Linked DNA regions of Homo sapiens: region 1 is linked to region 2. Evidence: promoter capture Hi-C in human tissues and cell types (Jung and others, 2019). All regions are on one chromosome and are shown on one strand. Each heading gives the region's core, a stretch centred on a gene start or on the middle of the fragment in contact. The rest is flanking DNA. Distances are from core to core; before and after follow the strand shown.

Region 1 (5,082 bases), core at 1,279-3,778, 530 kb before region 2:
GCCAAAGTCTGAGTGGAAAAAACACAAACTGTCTTTTCTCTGGTCTCACACAACAATCAACACAGAAGACTTCCGTGACCCCAAAATATGTGGGGATTTCTCCCCACCAGCAATCAAGCAATCAGTTCTGCAGTGGACACCAACTGGGTGTCCTCCAATTCTATTCAATTCAATTCTGACACTCTCTACCTGGAGATAGCTTCAGATCCCACAGGTTGATGGCTCAGTCCCCAAGACTGCCCCCACCTTCAGATACCAATGGCAAGCCCCAGGTTGTGTCACCTGTGCTTCTGACCGACAAGCTATACATCGGGGTTCCCACCACCCCTTCCTTTGGTTCATTTAATTTGCTAGAGGGGGCCGGGCGCGGTGGCTCACACCTGTAATCCCAGCACTTTGGGGGGCCAAGGCGGGCAGATCACGAGGTCAGGAGATCGAGACCATCCTGGCCAACACGGTGAAACCCCGTCTCTACTAAAAATACAAAAAAATTAGCCGGGCGTGGTGGCAGGCACCTGTAGTCCCAGCTACTCCGGAGGCTGAAGCAGGAGAATAGCATGAACCCAGGAGGCGGAGCTTGCAGTGAGATGAGATTGCACCACTGCACTCCAGCCTGGGCGACACTCCGTCTCAAAAAAAAAAAAAAACTTGCTAGAGGGGCTCCCAGAACTCAGGGAAACACATTTACCAGTTTATTATCAAGGATATTACAAAGGATACAGATGAAGAGATACATAGGGCAAGGTATGGGGGAAGGGGTGCGGAGCTTCCATGCCCCCTCCAGGTGTACCACCCTCCAGGAACCTCCACGCGTGCAGATATTCAGAAGCTCCCAGAACTCAGTCATTTTGGGGTGTTTTGTTTTGCTTTGTTTTTTGAGATGCAGTTTCGCTTTTGTAGCCCAGGCTAGAGTGCAATGGCATGATCTCAGCTCACCGCAACCTCTGCCTCCCGGGTTCAAGCCATTCTCCTGCCTCAGCCCCCCAAGTAGCTGGAATTACAGGGATGCACCACAGGGATGCACCACCACGCCCAGCTAATTTTGTATTTTTAGTAGAGATGGGGTTTATCCATGTTGGTCAGGCTGGTCTTGAACTCCTGACCTCAGGTGATCCACCTGCCTCGGCCTCCCAAAGTGCTGGGATTACAGGCGTGAGCCACCATACCTGGCCAAGGCCCATTTTTATAAGTAGTGCACGATGTTCCAGCCAACATTGTAATGGCACATTGGGCTTGGATGTTGTGATGTTATGATATATTTATATTGGTTTTTGTTCACACTTCCTGGTTGATAAGTGCCATAGCCCTTGTTATTTCCTAAGTGACTAAAACAATAGGTATATATTTTAAAAGCATTTGGGCTGGGCGCAGTGGCTCATGCCTATAATACCAGCACTTTGGGAGGCCAAGGCGGGCAGATCACTTGAGGTCAGGAGTTCAAGACCAGCCTAGCCAACATGGTGAAACCCCGTCTCTATTAAAAATACAAAAAAAATAGCCAGATATGGTGGTAGGCGCCTGTAATGCCAGCTACTCTGGAGGCTGAGGCACGAGAATTGCTTGAACCCGGGAGGCAGAGGTTACAGTGAGCCAAGATCACACCACTGCACTCCAGCCTGGGAGACAGAGTGAGACTTCATCTTAAAAGAAATAAAAAATAAAAAATAAATAAATACATAAATAAATAACATTTGGCCTTTTGTCCTTAGTTCCTGAAGCAGCTTCAGAACAGCCTTCAGAGCCATAAAGGTGAAAGACATTCTCTTGTCATAACATTGGGGTGCTTTAGGCCTCAGAAAACAGAATCTCTCTCTCTCTGAGCTTCTCCTGCCCTCCTTTCACCTGCTCCTTTTTCTCTCCAAGGCAGCCTGTATATCTTAGTTCTTTTGCATTGCCGTAAAGGGATTCCTGAAGCTGGGTAGTTTATAAAGAAAAGAGGTTTATTTGGCTCACGGTTCTGTAGGCTATGCAAGAAGCATGGCTCCAGTATCTGCTTCTGGTGAGGCCTCAGGAAGCTTCTAATCGTGGCGGAAGGGGAAGGGGATATGGCATGTGCAGATCACATGGAGAGACAGGAAGCAAGAGAGAGAGAGCACTCATTACAGCGAGGACAACACCAAGCCATTCACGAGGGATCCACCCCCATGACCCAAACACCTCCCACCAGGCCCCACCTCCAATACTGGGGGCCACATTTCCACGTGAAATTTGGAGGGATTAAGTATCCAAACCATAGTACCTTAGAAACTAAAATATACTCTAATATTCTCCTGCCTTGAGCCAAATAAACCTCTTTTCTTTATAAATTACCTGTCTTGGAGCTGGCTATAAAGAAATTCTCTGGCCAGGTGAGGTGGCTCACCCCTGTAATCCCAGCACTTTGGGAGGCCGAGGTGGGTGGATCACAAGGTCAGGAGATTGAGACCATCCTGGCCAACATGGTGAAACCCCGTCCCTACTAAAATACAAAAAATTAGCTGGGCGTGGTGGTGCACACCTGTAGTCCCAGCTACTCAGGAGGCTGAGGCAGGGGAATTGCTTGAACTCAGGAGGCGGAGATTGCAGTGAGCCGAGATCGCACCACGGCTCTCCAGCCTGGTGACAGAGCAAGATTCTGTCTCAAAAAAGAAAAAAAAAAGAAATTATCTGGCCTATCTTGTGTGATTGTAGGTGTAAAAGTTGATCATACTTCAGCTGGGTGTGGTAGCTCATGCTTGTAATCCCAGCACTTTGAGAGGCTGAGGGATCACTCAAGGCCAGGAATTTGAGACCAGCCTGGGCAACAAGGTGAAACCCCACCTCTATAAAAAATACAAAAAAATAGCTGGGCATGGTGGCATGTGCCTGTAGTCCTAGATACTTGGGAGGCCAAGAATTGCTTGAGCTCAGGAGGTGGAGGCTGCAGTGAGCCATGATTGCACCACTGTCTTCCAGCCTGGGTAATAGAGCAAGACACACAGAAAGGGAAGGGAGGGGAGGGGAGGGGAGGGAAGGGAAGGGAAAAGGAAGGGGAAGGGAGCGGAGGGGAAGGGAAGGGAAGGGAAGGGAAAAGGAAGGGAAAGGAAAGGGAAAGGGAAAGGAAAGGAGAAAGGAAAGGAGAAAGGAAAGGAAAGGAGAAAGGAAAGGAAAGGAGAAAGGAAAGGAGTAAGGAAAGGAAAGGAGAAAGGAAAGGAAGGAAAAAGAGAGAAAGAAAAGAAAGGAAGGAAGAAAGAAAGAGAGAAAGAAAGAAAAGAAAAGAAAAGAAAGGAGAGAAGAAAAGATCATACGAATTGGGTCATTCTTGACATACCCAACTGAAACAGAGTCAGGAGGTCAGGGGGAAGCAGGCAGGGCACATAACATTGCTCCAAAAATGTAATTCTCTGCAAGCCTGGCTGCTGAAACTGCCTGCTATGACCTGAAACCAGTTTTTTGTTTTGTTTTTTGTTTCGTTTTGTTTTGAGATGGAGTTTCACTTTGTCGCCCAGGCTGGAGTGCAGTGGCCTGATCTCGGCTCACTGCAATCCCCACCTCCTGGGTTCAAGCTATTCTCCTGCCTCAGACTCCCGAGTAGCTGGGATTACAGGTGCCTGCCACCACGGCTGGCTAATTTTTGTACTTTTAGTAGTGACAGGGTTTCACCATGTTGGCCAGGATGGTCTCGAACCCCTGACCTTAAGTGATTCGCCCACCTCAGCCTCCCAAAGTGCTGAGATTACAGGTGTAAGCCACCATGCCTGGCCTTGAAACCAGTTTTATCTCATGGCTTCTGAAGCAAACTGCTGCAACTCTAAGACTAGTTCTACCCACTGCCAACACTCTCCAATCAGAGCTTGCTTGCCAGCTCTCTGAAACCTTACTAGTGCCAATGAGCTTCCTCAAAGAGCAATATGAAACATTTCCCCTTTCTATAAAACCTCTAACCTTCTCTTTGTTCTTCAGACATACCGAAGACCGGACAGTCTGCATATATGCTCTGAATTGCAATTCTTTCTTCCCAAATAAAACGTTTTAATTTCAGATTTATCTGTATATTTTATTTGACTTCAGCATAGGTTATAAGACCTCCATTTCAGAAGAGATCCCGCCCCATATCCGGGAGGAGGGAATGCCACACAGAGAGGCCAAGAAGAATCTGAACAGACAGGCCTTGCTAGGCTTAGATCATATCCTTTTTGTCCAATCACATTTCTTTTTTTTTTTTTTTTTTTTTGAGACGGAGTCTCGCTCTGTCGCCCAGGCTGGAGTGCAATGGAGTGATCTCAGCTCACGGCAAACTCCGCCTCCTGGGTTCAAGTGATTCTCCTGCCTCAGCCTCCCGAGTAGCTAGGATTACAGGCACACGCCACTAAGCCCGACTAATTTTGTATTTTTAGTAGAGACAGGGTTTCACCATGTTGACCAGGCTGGTCTTGAATCCCTGACCTCGGGTGATCCACCCGCTTCAGCCTCCCAAAGTGCTAGGATTACAGGCGTGAGCCACCATGCCCGGCCCAATCACATTTCTAAATGGATGTCCATGCTTCATGCCTATCCAATGAAGTCTCCATAAAAGGCCAAGAAGATGGGGCATGGGGAGGTTCCAGAGGGATGAAAACATGGCGCCTTGTAGGAAGGTGAACAAGAACTCATCCGCAGCTGAGCACAGTGGCTCATGCTTATAATCCCAGCACTTTGGGAGGCTAAGGTGGGAGGATTGCTTGAGCCAAGGAGTTCGAGACCAGCCTGGGCAACATAGGGAGACCTTGTCTCTACAAAAAATACAAAAATTCGTCGGTAATGGTGGTGTTAGCTTGTAGTCCCAGCTACTTGGGAGGCTGAGGTGGGAGGATTTGCTTGAGTCCAGGAGGTTGAAGCTGCAGTGAACCATGATCGTGTGCTAGATACAGTTCAGTGGCATTAAAAATGTACTTAACGCCACTGAACTGTATACATAAAAATGGTTACAATGGCAAATTTTATGTATATTTTATCACAAGAAAATCTTTTTAAGGCCGGGCATGGTGGCTCACACCTGTAATCCCAGCACTTTGGGAGGCCGAGGTGGTTAGATCATGAGGTCAAGAGATCGAGACCATCCTGGCCAACATGGTAAAACCCCAT
Region 2 (4,600 bases), core at 41-2,540:
ATTACCCAAGTGATGACAGTAAGAATATTCTAACCTTAGGGAACATCATGAACATCTCTTACACCAAGAGGAGATGAAACTGCAAAAAGATGTTTGAAAGGGGTCGCAGCAACGAATGCTTCTAATAGTGAATCTCTACGTTAGGGCATGTTAGAATCACCTTAGGAAAGTTCAAAAATTCCCCAAGCCCAGACCTCAAGCCAGACCAATTAAATCTGAATCTACAGGGGTGGAACCCATATATCTAAGTATTTTTTTAAAAAACAGCTCCTCAGATAATTGCAAAGTGCAGCCAAGGTTGAGAATCGCTGTTTTAAAGCAGGTACAAAAAATTAAACGTGGACTTTGATGGGGGGGACGGGAGTGTCGGTAGGCATGGATGAACTGAAAAGCCCTTCAGAATAGAGCGGTGACTGCAAGAGCAAGGACAAAAACTATATGAGAGCCCGTGGCAGGGGATTTAAGGGCCGTTTTTGTGTGGGACTGACAGGATTTGGGGGATGGTGACGACCTCAGCATACACCCGACTCTATTAAAATTGAGTTACTCTGCCAGCGGCCCTGTCTCTACCCGCAATCATATTTTCTAGCACCTTTTCCCACAGTTTGGAAAAAAAAAAAAAGGGGCGAAAACGTTCTCCCACGTAACGCGCCGTGGACGTGTATGGGAGGAGCAAAGGCCTGAGAATCACAAGCGCGCGGCCGCTCCCATTTCTTCGCGATTCCAGAACCAGAATTCACGAACATTTAGAGGAGGCCTCCCCTGGCTGTGTTTGTGCCCCACTTAGGAAGCGATGGTGGATTTCTCTGGGCAAATTGTCGCCTTTACAACGCCAGGGGGCGGAGGCGGGAGGGAGAGCGGCGAGGGTAAGGGCGGGGCAACTGCTGACGTTCCCGGTGACGACTCCGGCTCAGCCCTCACCCTGGTTTCCGGCGGCGCGCGGCTCCCTTTTCCGCTCTCCCGCGCGCTCACAGGTACCGCCTCACTCCCACGCGCCCCCCAGCGCTGCGGTGCTAGACAGCTGAGAGAACAGACACAGACCTGTCGGAAGGTCCTCTGCAGGTCCCCCTTCCGCTCTGCCGATCGACTTCCGCCTCGGGCAGTCAACATGTACGTTGCGGCTGTCTGGCGAAGCTGCTTCTGAGCGTTTGCGGAGGCGCAGCTTCCCCTCTGCGGGGCCGCCCTGCTTCCCCCCCATCCCCGCCTCCCCCCGCCCCTCGCTCCTGTCCCTGGGGTCGGCGGACTTCTCGCTACATGGGGGCGGGCTTCCGCGGTCGGCGCACGGCTTCCTGTTCTGAGGCGGCCCGGCGGTAGGCGGTGGCGACTCTGCCCGCTCCCGTTTCGGCGCGGTGACCGAGCGCCCGGGAGGCTCGAGGACCGCATCGTGTGCCGTTGCGCCAAGCCCGGTCCTGCGCCGCCATGGCCCCAGTGCAGCTGGAGAACCACCAGCTGGTCCCGCCCGGAGGCGGCGGCGGGGGCAGCGGCGGACCCCCGTCAGCCCCAGCCCCTCCTCCCCCGGGAGCCGCCGTGGCGGCGGCCGCTGCAGCTGCGGCTAGCCCGGGCTACCGGCTGAGCACCCTCATTGAATTTCTGCTGCACCGGGCCTACTCGGAGCTTATGGTGTTGACGGACCTGTAAGTGCCCCGAAACCCCTGCCTGTTCCCCAGCCCCCCTTCCCGCCCAACCGGCTGAGACGTTTGCACCTCCCTCTCCCCGAGAGGCTGCTGTGTTCTCCGCTGGACTGCTTAGTCTAGAATTTTTGAACTCCTGGGGTTCAGCAGAGGTGGAGAAGAAGCTTTGTATCTGGGGTCTTCCTGGCAACGATGCAACAGAGACTTGTTAATTTTGCGTGTTGTTACACTTCCACTGAAAATTGTGTGAAATTTTTGTCCGAGTTCCCAACAGAACTCTCTTGATTTCTTGGCTGGAATACATAATATTCGAGCTTTTAGAAAAAACTCTATAGATGGGAAATTTGTATTACAGCCTCTTGACGATACGTTTTAAATGTAAGCTGTTATTGCTTCTAAGTTAATGCAGGAGCTACATACGTTGTGTATAAAATACAAATTTGAATTCAAAGTACTTTTTTTCTGGAACTTTTGAGTGTTTGAGGTCTTAATGAAGTTAGTGTGAGTAAAATTTTTTTGTAAGTAGTCTGTTATTTCTTGGAGTATGAAGGGGGTTTATAAATCACCTAGTTACCCATGAAATGCCTTGGGGCATGATTAAGTTGTTAATCCCTTCAGAATAGGATCAGAATATACTAACGAATTTCAGTGTGTGAAGAAAAGGCACCGTAACATTTTGGGACTCTGTTGTACATCTTATAACCCAGGTTCAGAAAAAGTTAATCAGAATTTTATTTTTTATCTATTGCAAGACTTCAGATCAGGGTTATCAATTGAGATACATTAGTATGCAGATATTAGGCTCTAAAGCGTCACAGTAATTTGTTTTTAGAGACTGATAACAGATACTTGTTTGCAGATGACTGAAAGAGTAGGCTCTACTTAACTCCTGTAAAACGTCATTCTCAGTTTTGATGTATTGTACTTTTTTGAATGGGACAGAAAAAAGTAGTGTTAAAGAAGCCTACCCATGGCTAATGAGAAATTTAAATCGCTGTCAGGTTTAGGGACTATTATAATGATATACCTCTCTGCACCATTTATTGTTGGATTTCATAAAAATCCAAGAATATCCATGAGAAAGTTTCATGTATGTGCCTATATAGAGCTGTGGGAAAAAAAATGTTGAAAACTGCTGCTATCGGTGGTGTAATTTGCTTTTCCATAGGGGATTTGTAGAAATTCCTTGAATTGTGGTTGTCTTTTTACTATTTTAGGACTTGGCTTATGAAGAGAGGAACATCTGTTTTATTGCCGTAGAATAAGTATGTAGTTATAGTCCCACACCCTTTATGTGATGGTTCCCATATTTGTATCTCCAGCACAGACCTCTCTGATGAACTCCAGACTCTATATCCAGATGCCTACATTTCAGTATCTTGATGGGCATTTCAACATAGCAACTCCAGCACCAAACTCCTGATTCCACTGTCCTCCCTCCTGCAGAACCTTCTTTGCTATCTCACTAGTCTCTCCATTCTTCCTGTTGTTGCTCAGGCCAAATATTTTGGAATAACTCCTGGCTCCTCTCTCTTCACATCCTACATACATCAGCAAGTCCTGTTATCTTTGACTTCAGAGTCTGACCATTTCTCAACACTTCCACCAAGTGCTGGTCCAAGCCACCTAATCCTTCACCTGTGTACTGCAATAGTCAGTTCACTGGTATCTCTGTAGTTCCCTTGCCCCTTCTATAGTTTCTTCTCCACAAAATAGCCAGGATGATTCTTTTAAAATTTCTCTGCTTAGAACCCTTCGATGGTTCCCCATCTCACTGAGATTAAAAAGTGTTGATAATTGCCAGGTGTGGTGGCTTATACCTGTAATCCCAGCACTTTGGGAGGCTGAGGCAGGGGAGGGGGTCACTTGAGCCCAGGAGTTCGAGACTCTGTCTCTACCAAAAATAGAAAATTAGCTGGGTGTGGTGGCCCAAGCCTGTAGTTCCAGCTACTTGGAAGGTGGAGGTGGGAGGATTGCTTGGGCCCAGGAGGTTCGCTTGAGCCCAGGAGGTTGAGGCTGCAGTGAGCATGTTCGCACCACTGCACTCCAGACTGGGTGACAGTGAGATCCTATCTCAAAAAAAAAAAAAAAAATATTGATAATCATCTGTATAGTGACCATAAAATTTATAGTCCAAACCGGGACACTTTTGAGCATAATGGGGCTGATGATAATAATGTCAGAACAAGAGGCATAAACCAGGACTGTCTTGGGCAAACCAGAAAACCAGAACATGTGGTCATCTTACCTTTAAGGCCTTACATGATGTGCCTTCTCTGTTCCTTAACCTTTTTTTTTTCTCCAACCTCTTAACCACTTTTGGTTTGTCCCTTACCTCTTTAACTGCATGTCCTGAAACTCTCCTCTTTGCTTATCCTGTTCCGACCACATTACCCTTCCTGATGTTTCTTTTTTATTTTTGAGACAGGGTCTCACTCTGTTGCCCAGGCTGGAGTGCAGTGTGGCACAGTCATGCTCACTGCAGCCTCTCGACATGGGCTCAACTGCTCCTCCTGCCTCAGCCTCCCAAATAGCTGGAACTACAGGCATGCGCCACCACGCCCAGCTAATTTTTTTATTTTTGGTAGAGACAAGAGTCTCACTATGTTGCCCAGGCTGATCTTGAACTCCTGGGCTTAAGCAGTCCTCCCACCTCTGCCTCCCAAACCTTTTTTTTTTTTTGAGACAGAGTCTCACGGTGTTGCCCAGGCTGGAGTGCAGTGGTGTGATCTCGGCTTGCTGCAGCCTCCGCCTCCCGGGTTCAAGTGATTCTTGTGCCTCAGCCTCCCGAGTAGCTGCGATTACAGGCATGCACCACCACACCTGGTTAATTTTTGTATTTTTAGTAGAAATGGGATTTCACCATGCTGACCAGGCTGGTCTCAAACTCCCAACTTCAGGTGATCTACCCGCCTTGGCCTTCCAAAATGCTGGGATTACAGGCGTGAGCCGCTGTGCCCAGCCTCCAA

The links. The method cuts DNA at HindIII sites, captures the fragments that hold promoters and counts their contacts. A contact is called where the count stands out against the background at its distance.
Region 1: a contact is called between a fragment that was not itself captured here and the fragment with the promoter of MED14 in region 2, in 1 of the 25 tissues and cell types used here (lymphoblastoid cells).

Annotation. Positions count from the first base shown.
Region 1 is chrX:41,260,219-41,265,300 of GRCh38, reverse strand. No RefSeq gene overlaps it. Among named protein-coding and RNA genes, the nearest start is that of LINC02601, 13 kb to the left of the region's middle. The HindIII fragment of the contact is 8,576 bases long and covers 1-5,082 here.
Region 2 is chrX:40,732,232-40,736,831 of GRCh38, reverse strand. MED14 (mediator complex subunit 14) reads left to right here and starts at 1,290. Exons shown (of 31, transcript NM_004229.4): 1 at 1,290-1,634. The coding sequence starts at 1,420. It overlaps MED14OS (MED14 opposite strand), which reads right to left and starts at 1,142. Exons shown (of 2, transcript NR_169211.1): 1 at 1,042-1,142. RefSeq lists enhancers at 78-998, 999-1,920 and silencers at 953-1,042, 1,303-1,682. The HindIII fragment of the contact is 8,620 bases long and covers 1-4,600 here.